Linked DNA regions of Homo sapiens: regions 1 and 2 are each linked to region 3. The links are contacts of gene promoters, found by promoter capture Hi-C in blood cells and fetal thymus (Javierre and others, 2016). All regions are on one chromosome and are shown on one strand. Each heading gives the region's core, a stretch centred on a gene start or on the middle of the fragment in contact. The rest is flanking DNA. Distances are from core to core; before and after follow the strand shown. Region 1 overlaps JAKMIP3 (Janus kinase and microtubule interacting protein 3). Region 2 overlaps JAKMIP3 (Janus kinase and microtubule interacting protein 3). Region 3 holds the start of LRRC27 (leucine rich repeat containing 27).

Region 1 (3,815 bases), core at 50-2,549, 170 kb before region 3:
GTAAGATTGTGTCTGGAGTGATGCCTCAGTCCCAGAATCCCTCCACTGGGTCGGGAGAGTTGTCCCATGAGTGGAGAAGTGGCCTATGGGCCCCCTTGACCTGACCAGAATGCAGGATCTGAGCATAGAGAGCTCCAGGAGTGGGGGCCCTGGCCCAGAGCAACTGCCACCATGGTCCTTGTGATCAAACATCCCATGGACACCCCATGGGATTAGAGATGTAGGTCTCCACACACATTTCCAGAAGATCAAAGCCCAGCTTCAGCTTTCTGTGAGGCCACCTCTCTCTGCCACCTCCACAGTAGCTGTGTTCTCAGACCTCAGATGGGGCCAACTGCTCAGGGGATCATTCAGCCCCAAAGACCAGTGGGGAGGCACATGGTTGCTGGTTGGGCCAGGATTAATGGCCCCTACTCTGGAGGGGACTGGGGGCATCCTCCTGTGAGATGCTGTGGGAGGAGCATCTTCCTGTGAGATGCTGTGGGAGGGGCATCTTCCTGTGTGATGCTGTGGGAGGGGCATCTTCCTGTGTGATGCTGTGGGAGGGGCATCTTCCTGTGTGATGCTGTGGGAGGGGCATCTTCCTGTGTGATGCTGTGGGAGGGGCATCTTCCTGTGTGATGCTGTGGGAGGGGCATCTTCCTGTGTGATGCTGTGGGAGGGGCATCTTCCTGTGTGATGCTGTGGGAGGGGCATCTTCCTGTGTGATGCTGTGGGAGGGGCATCTTCCTGTGTGATGCTGTGGGAGGGGCATCTTCCTTTGTGATGCTGGGGGGGGGGACCTCTCGCTGTGTGATGCTGGGGGGGATCTCTCGCTGTGTGATGCTGGGGGGGGGCCTCTCCCTGTGTGATGCTGGGGGGGGTCTCTTCCTGTGTGATGTCAGAGGGCCCTCTCCCTGTGTGACGCTGGGGTTGTGTCTTCCCGTGTGATTCTGGGGGCGTCTCTCCCCGTGTGATTCTGGGGGCGTCTCTCCTTGTGTGATGTTGTGGGGGTATCTCTTCCTGTGTGATGTTGTGGGGGCATCTCTCCCTGTGTGATGCTGTGGGGGCATCTCTCCCTGTGTGATGCTGGGGGGGCCTCTCCCTGTGTGATGTCGGGGGCACCTCTTCCTCTGTGATGCTGGGGGCGCCTCTCCCTGTGTGATGCTGAGGGCGCCTCTCCCTGTGTGATGCTGAGGGGGCCTCTCCCTGTGTGATGCTGGTTGGGGGGGGTCTATTCCTGTGTCTTACTGAGGGGGCCTATTCCTGTGGATGCCGGGGGTGTGTTTTTTCTGCGTGATGCTGGGTGGGGGGGCTCTCTTCCTGTGTAATGCTGGAGGAGGCTCTCCCTGTGTGATGCTGGGGGTGTGTCTTCCTGTGTGATGCTGGGAGGGTCTCTCCCTGTGTGATGCTGGGGGGGCGTGTCTCCCTGTGTGATGCTGGGGGCATGTCTTCCTATGTGATGCTGGGGGTCCTCTTCCTTTGTGATGCTGGGGGGCCTCTCCCTGTGTGATGCTGGGGGGTCCTCTCCCTATGTGATGCTCAGGGGGCCTCTCCCTGTGTGATGCTGGGGGCATGTCTTCCTGTGTGATACTGGGGGGGCCTCTTCCTGTGTGATACTGGGGGGTCTCTTCCTGTGTGATGCTGGGGGGCCTCTCGCTGTGTGATGCTGGGGGGCCTCTCCCTGTGTGATGCTGGGGGGCCTCTCCCTGTGTGATGCTGGGGGGGTCTCTTCCTGTGTGATGCTGGGGGGTCTCTTCCTGTGTGATGCTGGGGGGGGGTCTCCCTGTGTGATGCTGGGGGGGCCTCTTCCTGTGTGATGCTGGTGGGGGTCTACTTCTATGTCTTACTGGGGGGGGCCTCTCCCTGTGTGATGCTGGGGAGCCTCTTCCTGTGTGATGCAGGCGGTGGCCTCTTCCTGTGTGATGCTGGGGGGGTCTCTTCCTGTGTGATGCAGGCGGTGGCCTCTTCCTGTGTGATGCTGGGGGGGGTCTCTTCCTGTGTGATGCTAGGGGGTCTCTTCCTGTGTGATGCTGGGTGGGCCTCTCCCTGTGTGATGCTGGGTGGGCCTCTCCCTGTGTGATGCTGGGGGGGGCCTCTCACTGTGTGATGCTGGGGGGGCCTCTTCCTGTGTGATGCTGGGGGGGGTCTATTCCTGTGTCTTATTGAGGGGGCCTCTCCCTGTGTGATGCTGGGGAGCCTCTTCCTGTGTGATGCTGGGGGGGGTCTATTCCTGTGTCTTATTGAGGGGGCCTCTCCCTGTGTGATGCTGGGGAGCCTCTTCCTGTGTGATGCTGGGGGGGTCTCTTCCTGTGTGATGCTGGGGGACCTCTCCCTGTGTGATGCTGGGGGGGCCTCTCCCTGTGTGATGCTGGGGGGGCCTCTCCCTGTGTGATGCTGGGGGGGTCTCTTCCTGTGTGATGCTGGGGGGTCTCTTCCTGTGTGATGCTGGGGGGGGGGTCTCCCTGTGTGATGCTGGGGGGGGCCTCTTCCTGTGTGATGCTGGTGGGGGTCTACTTCTATGTCTTACTGGGGGGGGCCTCTCCCTGTGTGATGCTGGGGGGGCCTCTCCCTGTGTGATGCTGGGGGGGTCTCTTCCTGTGTGATGCTGGGGGGTCTCTTCCTGTGTGATGCTGGGGGGGGGGTCTCCCTGTGTGATGCTGGGGGGGGCCTCTTCCTGTGTGATGCTGGTGGGGGTCTACTTCTATGTCTTACTGGGGGGGGCCTCTCCCTGTGTGATGCAGGCGGTGGCCTCTTCCTGTGTGATGCTAGGGGGTCTCTTCCTGTGTGATGCTGGGTGGGCCTCTCCCTGTGTGATGCTGGGTGGGCCTCTCCCTGTGTGATGCTGGGGGGGGCCTCTCACTGTGTGATGCTGGGGGGGCCTCTTCCTGTGTGATGCTGGGGGCGTGTCTTTCTGTGTGATGCTGGGGGGGCCTCTTCCTGTGTGATGCTGGGGGGGGTCTATTCCTGTGTCTTATTGAGGGGGCCTCTCCCTGTGTGATGCTGGGGAGCCTCTTCCTGTGTGATGCTGGGGGGTCTCTTCCTGTGTGATGCTGGGGGACCTCTCCCTGTGTGATGCTGGGGGGGCCTCTCCCTGTGTGATGCTGGGGGGGCCTCTCCCTGTGTGATGCTGGGGTGGTCTCTCCCTGTGTGATGCTGGGGTGGTCTCTCCCTGTGTGATGTTGGGGGGGCGGTCTCCCTGTGTGATGCTGGGGGGGCCTCTTCCTGTGTGATGCTGGGGGGGGTCTATTCCTGTGTCTTACTGGGGGGGGCCTCTCCCTGTGTGATGCTGGGGAGCCTCTTCCTGTGTGATGCAGGCGGTGGCCTCTTCCTGTGTGATGCTGGGGGGGTCTCTTCCTGTGTGATGCTGGGGGGCCTCTCCCTGTGTGATGCTGGGGGGGGTCTCTCCCTGTGTGATGCTGGGGGGTATCTCTCCCTGTGTGATGCTGGGGGGTGTCTCTCCCTGTGTGATGCTGGGGGGTGTCTCTCCCTGTGTGATGCTGGGGGGTATCTCTCCCTGTGTGATGCTGGGGGGTATCTCTCCCTGTGTGATGCTGGGGGGTATCTCTCCCTGTGTGATGCTGGGGGGTATCTCTCCCTGTGTGATGCTGGGGGGTGTCTCTCCCTGTGTGATGCTGGGGGGTGTCTCTCCCTGTGTGATGCTGGGGGGGGCCTCTTCTTGGGTGAAGCTAGGGGGTCTTTTCTTGGGTGATGCTGGGGGGGCCTCTTCCTGTGTGATATTGGGGGGGCCACTTCCTGTTTGATGTGTGGGCCTCTCTCTCCACTTCCAACAGGAAGGCCCCCTTGTTTGGGATGCTCCGAGTTTTCTGAGTTCA
Region 2 (4,474 bases), core at 1,967-4,466, 150 kb before region 3:
CACTTTCTAAGCAATGAGGGAAGTTGGGTAGAAACCGGGCTGCTGGCCCAGACATGGTGAGAAAGATCCAAGGTCACTTCTGTAGGGGCTTTGTGAGGAGCATGGACTCATCTTCCTGAGAGTGTGGCCTTCGGTGGGTGCCAGGTGCGTCTCCCGGGCTGGAGGCTCAGGACGTGGCGCTGTAGCTGGTGCTGGACCCATGAGGGCAGTGCCTGCCATTGGCTCAGTGACCATCCTGTGCAGAGCCAGTGCCTGGTCAAGGCCCCAACTGCCTTGAGTGCTGACCTGTGGTGGGTCACACACATTCCCCAGGTCGTCGCACTAAACGGCGTTTTCTCCACTCTTTTTCAGAGAGGAAGCAGTGCATTGGTGAAGGCAACGTTAGGTGTGATTTCCATTCCTGCTGGGAGACCCGGGACGCAGCCCGGGAGCTTCGTCCAGCCTGTGGATGGAGCCTGACTGGCTGCAGATGGAACTTCTGTGTCCTCCCACCCTAGGTGGGCTAAGGTTCTGCTCTCAGAGCTGAATTGACAGGAGGTGTGTGTGTGTGCTCACTTGTGTGCACAAGCATGCGTTTATGCATGTTTTCACGCAACCAGAAGAGCCATTCGTGGGATTTAGCCATTTCGAGGCACCTAGAAGTTGAGGCAGCCAGCTGTGCAGCCAGGTGTGACTGTTACTGGCAGCATTGTATAAAAGACACGACTCAGCTGCCGTAGGGAGGACTGGGTTGTCTGGAAGTATTAGGCTCATTTTATATTTGTGTCAGAAGAAATGTCTGACTTTGGGGCAGATGACACGGTGGCTGCGGACCAGGCATGGCTCCCTAGGTTGAAATCAGGGAAAAGCTAATAGTATCAGACAGATATGCTTTTTCTTTGGTGGCTGCAGGATTTTTGCTGGAAAATGCACTATTAATCAGCACTTGTCCAAGAAAGACCCATCCATTTCTGTTGTCATTCAAGCCACAGTTCCTGATTTACTCGGCAAGATACTGGGCCAGTTCAGTGTCTCTAGCTGAGCCTGACCTCGGGGTTTGCGTCTCGAGTCTGAAATCCTGTTTAGTCCTCTGTGCATAGTTTTGTCTCATTTTAACGACTGCATCTTCTTGGCACATTTATTATACTCACAACTGAATGGCACACAATAGCCTTGTGTTAATAAAAGCTACCGTGGCGCTGTGGGTGAACCGCTGGGTTGAAGTCCGATGGACTCTACGATGCAGGCATCCAGAAATATGTTGTAACTCTACCTGGCTCCCTGCCAGCCTGGCCTCCTCCTCTGGGAGAGCTCCTGGCATGGTCCCAATGTGTACCTGCATGGGAACAACAGCTGCATGGGCCAGCTGTTTCGGATCTAAAGATGTGCAGTGAAACTCACATTCCCAGATTCACATCCCTCATGTTTATTTGGGTCATCATGGTTTAGCATGTTGTATATATGTCTGGAGCACTTCATACACCTCTATCCACCACAGACACTCTTAATCACAGTTCTGTAATAATAATAAGGCAAACTATACGGCAAAGAGAAGCATGTAAATATGTACCAAATCCTTATGAAGTTGTAATTGTTTATATGTAAAAAGTATGTATATAGGAACGGGAGAAGGTGCAAGGAATGTGCTGAATAACATCCAAACTGCATCGCGTCTCTGCCCCATTCCTGAAAGCACACATCTAGTTGGAGCGTCAGTTCCTCTCCTTAGATATCATTGTTTTCACTCGTCTATCATAGGCACCTTCTTTACATCTGATTACAATACCCAGCATTTCAGAACTGGGTTTTTGCCCCCAAAAAGGTAAATATGAGCATTTATCACTGACTCCTCCTGGTCCAGTGAGCAGCAGCAGAATTCAAGTATTTAAAAATAAGGTGCATTTCTAAATTGCAGGCTATACCTTCTTTTCCAAACCAATGGGCTAGAGTGAATTTCCTCCAAGTACTTGGGCTGTCTTACTGCTAGCTCTTCTAACAGGGGAAGTCTGTATGAATGCATCACCCCCTAATAAGGCAAGAGGAAGGACCCTGAAATGTTGCCAGAAATGTACTGTTACATCAACATTTACATTATATTAACATCATCACACTCTGTGTTCAACACACAGAACAACATAGATACTTTAGTTTGTCTAAAGTAAAAATCCACATAAATAGCAGATTCCTTTGTTGACACCAGTGTGTTGTTTACCTTGTGCCCATGGTCCAGATTTTGAGCTGGAGAAGGACTATGGCTGTTCCTTAAAGTCTCTGCCCTTGCAGAATCTGTAGCCTTCAGGATACCCCGAGTGCCTTACAGGGCTTGTGAACACCGATACTAGAAGTCAAAAAGAAGAGAGTGCCCAAGTGTGGGTTTGGAGGCACTGACGCATTCGCCAACTCACCGTCATCCCATCCTTGAAACCCTGAGAGAGAGTGTGTGTTTTATCACAGTAATGGAATTCAGTTTAGCCTCAGGAAACTCATATTGTGAATATAGGTATCAAATCATATATTTGTTTACTGTATATTTTTTAAAAAGCTTTATTGTAAATTTATGCAAAAACTAACCGGGCCTGTTTTCTTACGGCGGCATGCCAGGTAGTGTGTGTATTCTCCCAGGCACTCCCTTCATAGTCACCCTCTAACCACGTGACATTCCGTTCCATGCTAAGCAGTATTCACAGGCCTAAAATAGGTTTGTATGGTGATCTACAAGATTTTACAAATATTTTTGTATTGTGATTCCTATGATATATACCAGAGAATTTTTTACTCGTTTGTAAATTATTGTACAGTTTTAATAAAAAATGTTTTAAATCTTAGACGATTAAAGTCCCCTCAAAGGTATTAAAGTTTGAACTGAAAGCCGTATGAGCCATTTCTGCACTTCTGAGTTCATTCTCTGAACAGTGCCTCTGCACACCAGAAACGGAGTCCGCGCCTTCCGCCCACTGTGGAGGAAAGCCCCAGTTCTCACCTGCGAGATCACCTGGAGGGCAAGCTCTGCAGTCGGGTGCCTGGCAGCACCTGGCTCCGGTCGACCACCTGGGAGGCTCCCTCCTGTGGCTGTTGGTCAAATGTGAACCATGGAAGAGATCAGACAGTTAGGAAAGGGACGGAACTTCTGCACGTGCATAAGAACAGTTGGTGATATTTGCCGTGGACGGTCCCACACAGGTGAGTAACAGACATTGCATTAATCATTTAGGGGAGGGGGAGCCCAGAGGAGGACGAAGGGGTGGGAAGCTGCTGGACCTAGCTCTGCTGGCTCGGGCCCCGCCAGTACTCGAGGTCATGGTGACTCAGTGGCCAAACTCTGGCTTTGAAATGCGGACTGCGGTAACAACGCAAAGGCCTGAAGTCTCTGGGTTCGAATTCAGCTGCTGCAGGCTGGGTAGAATGACAGATGGAGTGACAGCATCGCCCGTCACTCCTGTCTCGCCCCAAGCCTCTAACTCGGCTTTAAGGGAGATCAGCAGCAGTTTGCGTGGGCGGGTACACCCCACCCCCGCGCGCCCTCCACACTCGCCCAGGGTTTCGGAGTCAGGGCTTTCTTGTCTGGCGTGGGACGGCCCAAGGGGCCTGGAAATGTGGCCGGGATTCCCACAGCGGTTTCTCCGGTGCGCGCTCCCCGCCCGGCCTTCCCAGCGCCCAGTGTGTCCCGAGGGCGAGCAGCCACGCGTGGCCGGGACTAAGCGAGCACCCAGGGGCCAGAATGGGGCGTTCAGCACCCGCTACGTGGACAGAGCCAGCTCCGCGCAGCGCTGCCGGGCGGCAGGAGGCGGGGGGGGAGGGCGCGGCCTCCAGGTCCGCCCAGTGCACCTGCCGCGCAGACCTCGCTACAGGAGGCTCCGAGACCGGATTCTGTCGCCCGCTCCTGCCGTGACCGCGCGGCAGCCTCAGGAGCCCGCGAGGCCTCTGGCCCGGCCCAAGCTTGGCTGCGTGTTCCGCTGCGTGGAGGACGCCTTCGAGAGCAAGACGCTGCCGCTGGACGCTCTGGGCGGCGGCCGCCCGGGCCCTCGGGTTGGGAGGCGAGTCTGCGCGGCGCGCGGAGACCCCTCAACGGCCGCAGCAAGTCCCCGAGGGCAGCCCGGCGTGGCCCAGGCCCGGGACCCCCAGCAGGTAGTGGCCGCGGGACAGAGGCCGTGGGCCCGGGCTCGGACTCCCCGAGACCCTCGCACCCGGAGGACGCCGGGCGTGGGGCTCCCCCGCTCCCCCCTGCGGGGTCCTCCCTATCCGTAAAGGTCCTGAGCCTTCTGGGTCCTGCGACCACCCCCCACCCCCGCGAGGTCCCGCCCACCACCGCGTCCCGGTCCCTGGGGAGCGCGTGCGCCTCCTTCTGTCTCTCTCTCTCTCTCTCTCTGTCCTATTCGGGCCCCTCCTGCCCTCCGTCTCTCGCGGCCAGCGTGGAACAGCCTCGCGGGGTCACAGCCTGGCGCTCGGACCCTGGCCCGGGTCATCTGCGAAGGAGCCGGCTTTGGCCAAGGTGCCT
Region 3 (4,023 bases), core at 896-3,395:
AGCCACTCAATAATCAGATCAACACGAACACTTCATTCGTTCCTACGTTGGGAGGCTCACCCAAGAATACTTGCCAAAAGGCTACCAATGGATACAATCTGGCTGGGCAAAAACTGAGCACAGTAAAGGGCAAAACATGCTCGTACATACAATTAACTACTGACTACAAAAATTAATGTAGCATGAAAAATGTGAAACAAAAACCTGAGGCAACAATAACAAGCAAGAGGGAATACGCTCAAATGGTTAGTAAATGTTTTATTTGTGAAAAGAGATACTGGAATGCTGAAACTTGTTAGAAATAGCATCGTGCTGAAATCTTCCATCCCCTTCGCCACTCACGGCAACACCCATGTCACTCCTCATTCTCTCCTTGCTCTGCCCGGGTGGCTGGCCTCCCCACGCTCCTGAGAAGGTACTGGTTGTGCTTTCAGCTTCCTGATTGGTAGATAGTTGGGTATGTACGAAAACTTTTTTTTTGAGACAGGGTCTCGCTGTCACCGAAGCTGACATTAAGTGGCACAATCATAACTCACTGCAGCCTCAAAATCCTAGGTTCAAGCGATCCTCTTGCCTCACCCTCCCACACAGCTGGAACTACAGGTGTGTGCCACCACACCCAGCATTTTTTTTTTTTTTTTTTTTTAATTTTTGTAGAGACTGGGTTGCCCAGGCTGGTCTCCAACTCCTGGCCTCAAGCGATCTTCCCACCCTGGCCTCCCAAAGTGCTAGGGTTACAGGCGTGAGCCATCGTGTCCGGCCTAAAAAACATTTCTTACTGTGATCTCTTCACAAAAATAAAACGTAAATCCCCTCAAAGTGGATAGTCGTTTCTCCACATAATTATGTCGTTTCCTTTAAAAAGTGGAATCAGGCCGGGCACGGTGGCTCATGCCTGTAATCCCAGCACTTTGGGAGGCCGAGGGGGGCGGATCATGAGGTCAGGAGATCGAGACCAGCCTGGCCAACATGATGAAACCCCGTCTCTACTAAAAATACAAAAATTAGCTGGACGTGGTGGCGCGCGCCTGTAGTCCCAGCTACTGGGGAGGCTGAGGCAGGAGAATTGCTTGAACCTGGGAGGCGGAGGTCGCAGTGGGCCGAGATCGCGCTACTGCACTCCAGCCTGGGAGACAAAGCAAGACTCCACCTCAAAAAAAAAAAAAAAAAAAAAAAAGTGAAATCATGGCAGACTCCAGCTAAACTGTCCGGGTTTCCAGAGTGTTTCTGGGTGGGACAGAGGGTGCTACTTTTCATTATCAGTTGGATCCTGGAATGAAGGTGCACGGGACTCCAGGGTTCCACAGGACCACGCGAGCACCTCCCCTCCCGCCCGGTGTCATTTCATCTTCTTCCAAATTCTCAAAACCCTTCCTCAGGACACTCACTGCGTTTCCTCGCCCCCCTCACTCCTCCGTCCAGAGGCAGCCTTACTTCTCCAAAGAGGACGCTCTGAGTCTGCGTTCCCCTGGCAGCAAGTCCTGAGGCAAGATTTGGGGACAAGCAGCTCCTGTGGGAAGTGGCTCCAGGAAGCCCCAGGAGAGACGCGGGGAGTGAGCCCAGCGGGAAGGACAGGCAGCGAGGACCGCTCCAAAGGTGGTGCCTCAGCAGCAATTCTTTTCTGCTCGGCTGTCCTCGAGCAGCCCCGCCCGCCCCGGGCCCTCCGGCTCCCCAGACGGCACTTAGCATCCCGCTCTCTTCCTTCCCCTCTGTGCCAGGCCGGTCGCCCCTCCAGACCCTCGCGGTCTCTACTTGCCCGTCGACCACCACCCCTTCAAGGCCGCGGGCGCGGAAAAACGGATGCTACCGTTGGCCGCGTGCGTGCGCAGGCGCACCACCCCCTGCCACCCCCGCGCAGGCGCACCACAACCCCCCCACCGCAAGCGCAACCCCCCGCCCCAGCGCAGGCGCACCACACCCCGCCCCCTCCCGGGCAGGCGCACCACACCCGACCCCCTGCCGCGCAGGGGCACCCACACCCCGCCCCCGCACGCAGGCACAAACCCCCACAACACGCACACCCCCGCGCGCAGGCGCACCACACCCCTCGCGCAGGCGCATCACAGACACACTCGCGCTCAGCGTGGCGCCTGCGGGATTCCGTACCGGCGTCTCCATGGCGACCGCGTTGGCTGGGTGGCCTCCATTGTCGGGCTGCTGCTCTCAGCGGCGGGGCTCGCCAGCGCTTCAGTGGGCGGGGACGCGGCAGGTGAGACGGGGCGGGTACGGCCAGCTCGCTGAGCCCTCGAGGCGGGCGGCGGCAGGAAGGTGGTGCCTCGGCCCGTCGTGCCCTGTCGCCTAGCTCCAGCCGCGATGCTGACCGCAAAGGCTGCCCTTCTGAGGCCTGGAATGTGAGGCCCAGAGCGTCGGACCCAACTCAGCCTCGCCCGGATGGGGAAATCGAGGCAGGGAGCGGGGGTGGGCGTGCGTGGGGATCCCTTGAAGGCAGCCTCGGAAACCCCACGGAGCCTGCGCTGCCTGGGCCCTGTGTGAGTCCAGGCTGTTGTTTCACTTCTGGTTTTAAGATACTTTCCCTGTTCTGAGGTTTGAAGCCTCCCCTCCTCTGTTTTAAGTTCCGTGATTCGGAGAAAACAAGTGAACTGACCGTGAAAAAGCCCGCGGGCTTCCATGGAATGCAGGCTGCCTGGGGTTGAACCCTGCTGGGTCCCGGTGTCGCCTCTACCCCCCAATTAACTGCGCCCCTGGAACAGTTCCCTAACTGATCTGCGCCTCATATGCCAATCATTGGGCTGTTGAGTGACTTGAATTAGGTGAACTGATGCATTCCAACGTTGATTCTTATTGCCGAATAAATTGTTTGGAAATTGCAAGTGGAAGTGTGCCTCGCTGAATGAGATTTTGGTGAACAATACTTCTGAGTAAAAGTGTTGCTGGACAACGAAAATTCGAGATTAATTTAACAGGTTTTTCCCCGGTGCTTAACTGGGTGTAAGCCAGACTTAGTTCTGGTCACTGGGTCAAAATGGTAAACAAAAGACAGGCTTCCTGGCCTCAAGAAACTAAAAACATAGTTCAAATGGCACAGAACCACACCAGAGGTAAGAAACAGTGCAAATTTCCACCCGCCCCTAGTCATTTCATGGAAGCGTTGCAGTTGATTTACAGGCTTTGAAATGTTCCGATCTGTTTACATCCCTAAAATGATCATTACTATTGTGCGCCTTTGCGTTTTCCAGGAGTTAAATCTTGGAACTCCATTGTACAAAGTGAGAGCAGAGAATTTTAATCTGAACCTCTTTGTATTCCTTTTTTTTTTTTTTACATGTTTAAAAGTCAAATTTTTGCTACTGCTTAGGAAAAATGATAGCTTTTAAAGCAAGTTACATTACAGTAGATCTGCCACACAGCTATTCTGTTTTGCCTCGGTATAATTAGTTGCTTCTACGTTTCCCTTTCCCGTGTCTCCAGGTGACTCCAGACCAAGGAGGATGAGCTGCTGTCCCTGGAAGAGAACGGATGGAGGGAAGCAGCTCCTACGAAGTTCCCTCTGTGGCTGCTGCTGATCTGGAGGAGGGTGCTGGTCAGACTAGGAGCTTGCCTGCCACCCCCTCCAAAGATGTTCACAAGGGTGTTGGAGGCATCATCTTTTCCTCCTCACCGATTTTAGACTTGAGTGAAAGTGGTCTGTGCCGTTTGGAGGAGGTCTTTAGAATCCCCAGCCTTCAAGTAAGTGGGGCTGCTCCTCAGGCTGTGTGCCCACAGGTCCCCTATAGACAGAAATGGGAATGTACCCCTGGGCTTTATTTGTAGGCTTCTTTCTCTTTGGAATTGATGAATTCTAAAATTAAATAGAGGAAAGGTTAACTCATAGTTTCATACGCCAATCACAACAAAATGGGAAATTCATGATGGGGACCAACCAATGGAAATAGTACATCTATTTAGATGAAGGTGTCTGTTCTCTTCCTTGCAGTTCATCTCTCAAAACCTGTGGTAGAAACTACTGCCAAACACGCTTGGTCTCTTAATTAAAACACAAAACCTTAAAGAAAATCAGGCAAC

What was found. The method cuts DNA at HindIII sites, captures the fragments that hold promoters and counts their contacts. A CHiCAGO score of 5 or more calls a contact.
Region 1: a fragment that was not itself captured here is called in contact with the fragment with the promoter of LRRC27 in region 3 in 2 of 17 cell types (naive CD8 T cells and naive CD4 T cells); the score reaches 6.6 in naive CD8 T cells.
Region 2: a contact is called between a fragment that was not itself captured here and the fragment with the promoter of LRRC27 in region 3, in 2 of 17 cell types (non-activated CD4 T cells and naive CD4 T cells). The highest score is 5.4, in non-activated CD4 T cells.

The regions. Positions count from the first base shown.
Region 1 is chr10:132,158,170-132,161,984 of GRCh38, forward strand. All of the region lies in intron 19 of JAKMIP3 (Janus kinase and microtubule interacting protein 3), which reads left to right. Among named protein-coding and RNA genes, the nearest start is that of JAKMIP3-AS1, 27 kb to the right of the region's middle. The HindIII fragment of the contact is 6,467 bases long and covers 1-3,815 here.
Region 2 is chr10:132,182,006-132,186,479 of GRCh38, forward strand. JAKMIP3 (Janus kinase and microtubule interacting protein 3) reads left to right here. Exons shown (of 24, transcript NM_001323087.2): 24 at 352-2,853. JAKMIP3-AS1 (JAKMIP3 antisense RNA 1) reads right to left here. Exons shown (of 4, transcript NR_184044.1): 1 at 2,960-4,474; 2 at 2,192-2,317. Among named protein-coding and RNA genes, the nearest start is that of JAKMIP3-AS1, 2.5 kb to the right of the region's middle. The HindIII fragment of the contact is 1,394 bases long and covers 2,520-3,913 here.
Region 3 is chr10:132,330,048-132,334,070 of GRCh38, forward strand. LRRC27 (leucine rich repeat containing 27) reads left to right here and starts at 2,146. Exons shown (of 11, transcript NM_030626.3): 1 at 2,146-2,209; 2 at 3,430-3,687. The coding sequence starts at 3,478. It also overlaps a transcript of STK32C not described here. RefSeq lists an enhancer at 1,429-1,963 and a silencer at 1,848-1,967. The HindIII fragment of the contact is 6,954 bases long and covers 1-4,023 here.